2 separate regions of the Homo sapiens genome follow, and region 2 is linked to region 1. The links are contacts of gene promoters, found by promoter capture Hi-C in human tissues and cell types (Jung and others, 2019). All regions are on one chromosome and are shown on one strand. Each heading gives the region's core, a stretch centred on a gene start or on the middle of the fragment in contact. The rest is flanking DNA. Distances are from core to core; before and after follow the strand shown. Region 1 holds the start of KREMEN2 (kringle containing transmembrane protein 2). Region 2 holds the start of ZG16B (zymogen granule protein 16B).

Region 1 (4,921 bases), core at 1,606-4,105:
TTCGGGAGGCTAAGGCAGGAGAATCGCTTGAACCCAGGAAGCAGAGGTTGCAGTGAGCCAAGATCGCGCCACTGCGTTCCAGCCTGGGTGACAGAGCAAGACTCCGTCTCAAAAAAAAAAAAAAAAAAAGCAAGAAGACCAAGGGCAGCTGAGCAGCCCCAGGTGGAACCCAGGCGTCCTGACTGCACCGGGTCTGGCCCTGACCCAGAGCTCCCGGCAGGAAAGGGCTGGGCTCAAACACGGCCACCCTGCACCGCCTTAAGAAGGGCAGGGCTGAGCCTGCTCCTCCCCTTCCTGGGGGGCTGACTGGGGCAAAGTGGCCTGGTCCCTCCTCTTGCCCAGGTCCCCCAACTTCTCACCTTCTCCCTACTTGGGCAGGGCAAATCCTGTGTTCCATGTCCCATAGGAGAGAAATGCCAGGCTGGCCCCTGGGTTGCTTCTGCACCTACCTCTTTGGCTCCTTTCTCTCTGCCGCCCCCATGTGGCCAATCTGCACCTGTGCATCTGCTTCCCTCAGAGATGACATGCCAAGCCTGTCAGGCCCTAGGGACCCCAGGCCGACCCCTGCCCCAGTCTGGCCTCAGTCTCCCTGTCTGTGAAATGGGCTGCTGGAGATCCTGCTTCCAAAGTGTCAGCTGGCGGCAACGACATTCGAGGGGTGAGGAGCCCCTCAGAGCATGTGAGAGAGTATCTCTGTGTGCCCAGAGGTCCCTGAAGAATCAGAGACCCTGGAAGCGACATGGAGGCATGAATCAGCGCCCAGCCCCTGGATCAGACCAGGCGGAGCTTGAAGCCCAGTTCCAACGCTTAATAGCTGGTGACGCCCACGAGTCACCCAGTTACCACCTCTGCGCCCCATCTGCAGAATGGGGAGATGAGCCTGTCCCCTCTCGCAGGGCGTCAGGAGGGCAGACATGCCGCTGCTTGCAGAGCCCTGAGTGCCAAATGCTGGGGAAGTGGTGGGGGGTGGGCTTCTTAGTTCTGGAAGTTTCCGTGAGTGACCTGAGACTGAAGTTTGCCGCAGGGATACTCCACCCCACTCCATCTCAGTGCCCCAGCCTCAGCACTGAGCACCCACTTCCTCTCACCCCCTGCCCCCTCTGGAGGAGACAGGCCTGGGCCAACCGAACCGGGTGTCACAGTGCCAGGGACAGAGGGACGGTTCTTTCAGACCCTACTCTCTCAAGGGAAGGGGCTGATTCCTCCACCAGCGTCCCAAGCCGGCCCCCTTTCCGCACAGAGTCCTTAATTGTCCCTGTCGCCACCTTGCCCCATCCTCAGATGGCTGTGGCTGTGGGGGTGAAGCTCCCCACGCACCGCCATTGTGCAGGCCTGCCCCTAGGACATCCTCTGTGGACTGGAGCCCGGGAGGACTTCACTGAGCCCCCGCCAAGAGAAACCGGGCAGACAGGTGGTCCCGGATGCTCCCTCGTCGGGAAGCGCAGTTGGGTTCCAGGGAGCCCGTGGGTGCTGGAGGCCCCAGCTCAGGGCTCAGTGAGCCGGGCCAGCCTGGCCTCTGAGAGGGCTCCCGGAGGAGGCGACCAGGACCCTGGCCTAGAGTCTCAGCAAGTCCATCTCCTTCAAATGCCCCCACCTCGGCTCCACGCCCCTCCTCCAGAGCACACTCGCGTGAGGCGCCAGCTGGAAGATCCTCGCGGGTCCCAGCACCGCAGTGGGTGCCTGGGCCTGACAGAACCTCCCTGAACCCCATCTTTCTTCTCCATCGACACCGGGGCAGAGACGGTGTGGGGGCTGCAGGGCGGGGACTGGTCGGCCTGGGCTCGACAGCTTGGCGAGGGCCTGGTGCGGGCTGGGCAGGCTGGACTGAGGGGCAAAGAGGTCTGGGCGGGGCGGGGCCGCTCTGGGCGCCCGGCCCCCACCAGTTCCTTCCCCCGGCCCCCGCCTCCGCCCTCCCACGCACCTGCGCTGGCCTCCCCCCAAGCCCTGGGGGCAGCGGGCGGGTGGCGCTGGGAGATCAGAGGACTCGGAGGAGTCGGGCCCAGGGGGAGGGGGCGGGGAATTTCCCCCCACGCCTGCCTGGGCCTGCTCCCCTCCCCCTCCCCCGCCAGGTGGGGGGCACGGCTGGGGGAATTCCACTGCAGTGTGAAGGCTCGGGAGAGTCTGGGCTGGGGGTCCCAGGGAAGGGCGGGGCAGGGGGAGGAGGAGGGGACAGACTGGGACCTGGGGCGCAGCTGCCTTTCTCCCCAGACACCAGCTGCCCCTGCCTGTCCCGGACTGAGCGTCCACGACTCCCGCCTGTCTCGTGGGCGCGGGGGCAGGGAGTGGAGCTTCCTCCGTCAGGCCAGCGGCATCTGGACCAGGGGCGGGAGGGGCGTGCGGATCCGAAGAAAGTGTGCGCGTGAGCGCCTGGCAATGAATGGGAGAGAGTGCGAGCGCGTGCGTGCACTGGGAGGAGGGCGCTTGTAACTCGGACATTCCGGGTGTCCTGGGGCGCGTGCGACCACGTGAGGGGGTTCTGTATCTCCCATTTTAAGGGCCTTCCGTCCGCTTGCCCCGCCTGTCCCCCTCCACACCTTCCCACTTGAACCGGCACCGACCTGAGGGAGAGGGGGCCGGGAAGCGCTGGACGCCCGGGGTCGGGGGAACGGGCGTGGGAGGCGTCTGGACCTGCTGCCTCCGCTCCAGTGCTGGGCGGGGCTTCCCGGCCTCCCATGGGGGGAGGGAGAGACCCAGGGGGAGGGACCCACGGAGGGATGCGAGGCGGGCAGGAGTCAGCCCGTTGGAGACCTGGGCGAGGGAGACGCCGAGAGCTAGGCTCAGTGGGAGGGGGCGGGCGTAGAGGCTGAGGCACCGCCCAGAGCTCGCTGAGACAGAGACTGAGAACGCCCCCGGCCAGATTCCCCCCGGAGAGACCCGGGTAGGGACAGGGACAGAGAGACGCCTCTAGGGGCAGAGGCCCTGGGAGGCAAAGACCCCCAGGAGAGATTTACCCACCCCAGACGGAAAGCGCGGCTCAGAGTCGGACGAGGGGAGACTGTCAGAGGACAACGCCCCCTAGGTCTCCTGGGAGACCCCGAAGCGACCCCGGGGGCAGCCCGGGCCGTGTCCGGGCGAGGGTGACCTATCCTTGGTTGAGAGCGATGGGGACACAAGCCCTGCAGGGCTTCCTCTTTCTCCTCTTCCTCCCGCTGCTGCAGCCGCGTGGGGCCTCGGCTGGGAGCCTGCACAGTCCAGGTAAGTCCCCGCACGGCTGTCGGGCCGTGTTCACCACCCCTTCCTCGGCCTCCGCCCCCAGGGCCAGGCCCCCAAGGCTAGGGAGGGGGACAGAGCAGGTGGCCGGAGCAGCTGAGCAGCCCGAGGGCTCCTGCAGGGGCGGGTGCGGGGTCGCTGGCTGGGGACCCAGGCGGGAGGTGGCGTAGGGGCGCGAGGATGCCCGGCGTGGGTCCGGACCTCCCCAGGCCCTGCCTTTGCCGTGCAGGCCTGTCCGAATGCTTCCAGGTGAATGGGGCTGACTACCGCGGCCACCAGAACCGCACTGGCCCGCGCGGGGCGGGCCGCCCGTGCCTCTTCTGGGACCAGACGCAGCAACACAGCTACAGCAGCGCCAGCGACCCCCACGGCCGCTGGGGGCTGGGCGCGCACAACTTCTGCCGGTGAGGGGCGGGGCCTGCGCTGGGGGCGAGGCTGGGCTCACCATTGCAGGGATGGCCCGAAGCGGGGCCTCCGTGCGGGCGGGGTGGAGGTCTGCCGTGGACTGGCAGCCCAGCCTCCTGGAGAACCTGGGGGCGGGGCCAGAATGAGGGGCGGGGCGGGGCGGGGCGGGGCGCGCGGAACCCTGGCGCAAAAGGGATCCTCCTCAGGTGAACAATTTCTGCAGAGCTCCAGTTCAGGGCCAGGAGAGAAACGGACCTGGGCACTCAAAGGACCCGTATGGGCGGGGCCTGGTCAGAGCGGGGGCCGAATGGGCGGGGCCTTGTCAGAGTGGGGCTCTTGTCATACAACTTATTTTGGGGTTCAGAGCCACAGCTACGGTCTGAGGCAGGATGGACCCAGCGGGAGGAGAGCCGCAAAGCTCAGGAGCTCACTTCTGCTTTTAAGTGGGGTTGGAGGCCAGGCGCGGTGGCTCAGCCTGTAATCCCAGCACTTTGGGAGGCCAAGGCAGGCGGATCATCTGAGGTCAGGAGTTCGAGACCAGCCTGGCTACCATGGTGAAACCCCATTTCTACTAAAAATACAAAAAATTAGCGGGGCATGGTGGCGGGCGCCTGTAATCCCAGCTACTCAGGAGGCTGAGGCAGGAGAATCGCTTGAACCCGGGAGGCGGAGCTTGCAGTGAGCAGAGATCGCGCCAATGCACTCTAGCCTGGGTGACAGAGCGAGACTCGTCTCAAAAAAAAAAAAAAAAAGTGGGGTTTGAGGGACGGAAGTGGCTGAGGCCCATGCCGGGTGGGGGTGAAGAATACAGATGGCCTCAAAGTCCTCATATATGGAGTCAAGTCTAGCAACAGCTGAAGCCTAAAAACAGCTCTCAAGTCCCCTTTAATGACTTCCCGCTGTCCACTCGGAAGTCGACGTCCAGTTCCTTCATCAGGCAGAGTTCTGCGTAGACAAAACTGGAATTTGTGGGTGTACAGCAGGCAGCACAGCCGCTCACAGGCACAGAGCCTTGAAGGCCACTTTGAGCATAGGCTGCGGGGCCGGGCCTGGGTTTGCTATTCTTGGGGTGGTGGGAGCCCCACCACCTCCCTCCCACCCGCAGTAACCCAGACGGTGACGTGCAGCCGTGGTGCTACGTGGCTGAGACAGAGGAGGGCATCTACTGGCGCTACTGCGACATCCCCTCCTGTCACAGTGAGTAGCGCGGCTGGACAGAGGTGGGAACGCTGCTGCATCTGGGAGGAGGGTTGTTTTCGGAGTCACGGAAGTCTGACTCTGCCCCCTCAGTGCCAGGCTACCTGGG
Region 2 (4,654 bases), core at 979-3,478, 130 kb before region 1:
CCTCCAGGGAGATGGTGCAGGTGCCAGAAGAAGGGCCAGGTGTCAAGGCTAATGTGCTGCTCTGCTCCTGCCCCGTCAGGGCTGGGGTGTCACGGGGAGCCCCCTTCCTGACTCTGCCATCCAGCACCACGGACAGGGCTTTGGTGGTTCTTTGGGAATAGGTATCAACCAGGGGTGGGCGGACGTTTTGTGTGAAGGGCCAGATGGTACAATTTTAGGTTCAGGGGCTGCAGGTCTCTGTCACAGCCATGTGAGCTTCTGTGCAAGCATGAAGACAGCCACAGGCCACATGCCAATGAGCGCACGGCGGCTGTGGGCCAGTGACGCTTGACTTAATGAACTGGAGCATGGGAATTTCAAAGAATTTTCATGGACCACAAGACATCGTTCTTTTGAATGTTTCCTAAGAATATTAACATGTAGGAAGCATTCTTTGCTCATGGGCGAGGCAGAAACAGGAGGTGGTTGGCTGGGCCATAGTTCGCCACCCCTGGCGCAGGCACCTGGTTCAAGTCGTGAAAGTCCTGCTCCTCCCGCAGCCCCTGCCCACCCTCATCCCGATGAGACCGGCGTCCCCGTTCCTGGTGAGCCAGCACTTCCAGAGCCAGTCTGTGCATGCACAAAGCCCTTCTTTGCACCCATCTTCCTGGGAAGCATGTGGGGTCCACACACACTGGTCTTCCAGCCTGTTTCCCTGGGGGATGGGTGTGCAGTGGGAGTGTCCCCCACCCTCTCCACCCAAGTTTTCCACAGCCAGGGATCCACCACCCGGGCTCTCGGCATCTCCAGGTGGATGCGCCCGTGATTTCTCAGCTTTTGCTCTTTCCAAAAATTAGCGTTGTACACTCTCCCCCAAGGCATAAAGTCTAAGGCTCAGGGCAACCAGCCCTGGGGGCCTCCCCTCCAGGGAGGCCCTCACAGCACCCTCAGGGGGAGGTTCTGTTGTTATCCGCAGAACAGAGGCCCAGAGAGGTGAAGCAAGAGCCCGCAGATCCCAGCCCCGCTACGTCAGGAAGCCCGGCTGGACCCACGTCTGGCTCCAGGGTCCTGTGTTGGTGATCACAGCCCTGTGGCTGTTCCCAGCGGTCACAGGCCCTGAGGAGCTTCAGTCCCTGGAACACACACAAGAGGTGTCCTGAGGACACGCATGGAACTGCGCTTGAGCTGCAATCTGTCCCCTAGTTCCCGCCTCGCTTGGGCATCTGACGGCCTTTATCTCTTCTCCCCTGATCCTTATCCGACACCCCAACTCTTCTGCAGACTCCAGTTCCTTCCCAGTGCCCTGGGTCCTTCAGGGTCCTTGGGATGAGACATCTCCGAACACGAGCTTTTCTCAGCTGGCGTCTGAGGGTGATGGCGTTCTGCCCACAGGCATCCGCCTGCACAGGCCTCCCTGACAAGAGGGGCTGAGGGGGAAAGGAGTGAGACAGAAAACCAGCAGGGCCCCGGGGACCGAGCCCTGGAGAAGCGCCAGTTCCCGCCCAGATGAGGGCCGACACCTCGGAAGGACCGGCCTGGGGGGTCGCCCTCCCCAGGCCCTCTGCCTCCCATCGTGGCATGGACTGCACCTTTGGTGTCCTTCCCTCCCATGGCCTCTGAGTCCCTGAACACTGGCTCATACCTGCTCCACCCAGATACAGCACAGAGGAGAGACCCGGGCAGCCTCTAAGGGCAGTGCCTTGAGGGCCAGTGCCTGGTGCACCTGCCGCACAGGGCACAGGACACAAAGGGCTGGGTGATCCATTCAGGCTCTCTCAGGGCCCGCGTCGAGCTCGGCCTGGGTCCCAGGAAGGCTGCCAGGCACCAGGTGCTGCCTGAGTCCGAAGGAGGCCCTGACTCCAGGTCGCCCACGGCAGGAGTGGGCCCCACGGAGCTTCTGTGGACCCTTGACCCGCCACCCTCAGGTGGAAGCCATCAGGCTGCGCTGGATAAGCCAGCCTCTCCCCACCTCTGCCATTCAAGTCGGTGCCAGTGCTGACTGGAGAGATCCCAGAGATAACTGTGAAATGCCTGTCACTGTTCTCAGCTTCGTTTATGTAGGCTGCAGAGCCAAGACAGCAAATACTGCACATCCGGGAGCCTCCCCAAGGCCGGCCCTGGGCCTTCCCCCAGGAAGAGCCCCACGGCCAGCTCCTTCCTGTTCCCCTGGCGGCCCCTCGCTTCTTCCTTCTGGATGGGGGCCCAGGGGGCCCAGGAGAGTATAAAGGCGATGTGGAGGGTGCCCGGCACAACCAGACGCCCAGTCACAGGCGAGGTAAGGTGCTTGGCTCCATGGGTGGGGCCCGGCAAGGTCACACTGGCCCTTGCTTTGGAGTCAGGAGGCCTCTCTTCTTCCCACAGAGCCCTGGGATGCACCGGCCAGAGGCCATGCTGCTGCTGCTCACGCTTGCCCTCCTGGGGGGCCCCACCTGGGCAGGGAGTAAGTCAGTGGGGTCTGCCCTCAATCTCCCCTGCCTCCCTCCAGGAGAGCCAGGGACTCACCCGGCCCTTGTCCCAGACTAACTCTGGTCACAGAACCATCCTGTCTGCCTGGAGGGGTGGGGTCCCCTGTTCTGGCAGAGGTCACCCCCATATCACCGCATGGGGATTTTCTTCCCTTTGGGTCTCTCTTTTCTTCAGAGATGTATGGCCCTGGAGGAGGCAAGTATTTCAGCACCACTGAAGACTACGACCATGAAATCACAGGGCTGCGGGTGTCTGTAGGTCTTCTCCTGGTGAAAAGGTGAGTAGGGCTATGGTCATGGGCCCAGCGCCATGTCCCCTCCCATCCCACAGTTTCAGGAACTCAGGGCAGGGGGTAAGCACCCGTGGCCACTTTTGCCACACATGCCTGGCTACTGTCGATGCTTCCTGGCTCCCGCTGATGCTTCCTGGCTGGAGCGGAGACGGTCAGACCGTCCTCCCTACCTTCTCCCTTCAACCCAAGCTCAACTCAACCAAAAATGGCCCCTCTGTCCCCATGCCTGATAGGAAAGTCAGGGGAAAGTCTGTCCGATTACTGTCAAAGAAGACAGGAGGTAAGGGTCAGAGTGGACCACTGACTGAATATGAGTCGCAGAAGTGTTAGAGGCAGAAGTCCAGGGCCATTTCCTTAATATCGAAGTGTCTCTGCTGGAGGTCTGGGATGGATTTTTGCCCTGCATTTAGAAGTTCTGGGGTCCTGGGAGAGGGGAGAGAAGCCCAATAGCAGAGGAGACAGAGTGTGGGCGGGGCGAGCCGGAGGGGTGCATCCTGGGAGAGCACCAGGGTGAGGGAGGGGTGAAGATGAGCCCCGTCAGGGAAGCGCTGGCGAGTGTGGGAAGTCACCTGCCCCTCGGCCTGTGAGCTGCTCTGCTTGGAGTGACTAAGGCTCGGGAGGTCCAGGCTCGGCCAGAGGCAGCTCATATGTGGGCCACAGTGACGGCAGCTGGTGCCTTCTGGGTCACGGAGACCTGGCGCTGCACGCAGCTCTCCTCACCAGGATCTCAGTGACTCCTCCCAAAAGTCACACCCACTTTGCAGACGGGGAAACTGAGTCCGGAGAGGCTGGGTAACGAGCTCAAGATCACAGGGCCCAAAAGTGGTAGAATCAGGGTTGGTGACCAGTGAGTCTGTGTCAGGGACCCAAAGTCTGATGGTGCTGGACTCTCTGCATCCCGGGAAGGAGGATGGGGGCGCTGAGGACCCGGGATGTGCTGGGCCATCCCAGATCTGGACGTCCAAAGCTTTGCCTCTCTCCCAGTGTCCAGGTGAAACTTGGAGACTCCTGGGACGTGAAACTGGGAGCCTTAGGTGGGAATACCCAGGAAGTCACCCTGCAGCCAGGCGAATACATCACAAAAGTCTTTGTCGCCTTCCAAGCTTTCCTCCGGGGTATGGTCATGTACACCAGCAAGGACCGCTATTTCTATTTTGGGAAGCTTGATGGCCAGATCTCCTCTGCCTACCCCAGCCAAGAGGGGCAGGTGCTGGTGGGCATCTATGGCCAGTATCAACTCCTTGGCATCAAGAGCATTGGCTTTGAATGGAATTATCCACTAGAGGAGCCGACCACTGAGCCACCAGTTAATCTCACATACTCAGCAAACTCACCCGTGGGTCGCTAGGGTGGGGTATGGGGCCATCCGAGCTGAGGCCATCTGGGTGGTGGTGGCTGATGGTACTGGAGTAACTGAGTCGGGACGCTGAATCTGAATCCACCAATAAATAAAGGTTCTGCAGAATCAGTGCATCCAGGATTGGTCCTTGGATCTGGGGTACAACCAAAGCCTTCCCTGCTCCTTGGAGACAAAGTCCCCAGTGCTGCAGCCCAGTGAACTGAGATGAGGGGTAGGGCAAAGGTGACTCTGCCGAGGACAGAAAGAGAGCAGCACCACCCCCTCAGAGGTGCTGTGGATCTCTGTGCCAGTCCCACAATCTTTGAAGAGTCAGGCTTCAAGGCCGCCACTCCCCACTGTCCCTCACCCCAGGCCCACCCAGCGGGCCTCTGCTGGCCACTCAGTCCCGGGATTCTCTGAGTGCTCAAGGGGCCTCAGGGAAGCCACTCACTCATCCATTCACTCAGCAAACATTTGCCAAGGCCGTGTCCTCACCAGGCTCGCCTGGCACTGGGGGTATAAAGAAGAGGCCAGGTTTCAGCTGAGTGCGTATACACTGTGGTGGGGGCTGGTGCAGA

What was found. Contacts are between HindIII fragments. The study calls those that stand out against the background at their distance.
Region 2: a contact is called between the fragment with the promoter of ZG16B here and the fragment with the promoter of KREMEN2 in region 1, in 2 of the 25 tissues and cell types used here (lymphoblastoid cells and pancreas).

What each region holds. Positions count from the first base shown.
Region 1 is chr16:2,961,420-2,966,340 of GRCh38, forward strand. KREMEN2 (kringle containing transmembrane protein 2) reads left to right here and starts at 2,856. Exons shown (of 9, transcript NM_172229.3): 1 at 2,856-3,195; 2 at 3,440-3,614; 3 at 4,721-4,812; 4 at 4,906-4,921. The coding sequence starts at 3,102. RefSeq lists enhancers at 93-1,090, 1,091-2,088, 1,575-1,704, 3,673-4,632, 4,235-4,354 and silencers at 1,785-1,864, 1,895-2,024, 2,575-2,654, 3,185-3,434, 3,505-3,874. The HindIII fragment of the contact is 31,540 bases long and covers 1-4,921 here.
Region 2 is chr16:2,828,075-2,832,728 of GRCh38, forward strand. It overlaps ZG16B (zymogen granule protein 16B), which reads left to right and starts at 2,229. Exons shown (of 4, transcript NM_145252.3): 1 at 2,229-2,254; 2 at 2,341-2,419; 3 at 2,620-2,722; 4 at 3,722-4,202. The coding sequence starts at 2,368. The coding sequence ends at 4,085. The HindIII fragment of the contact is 17,999 bases long and covers 1-4,654 here.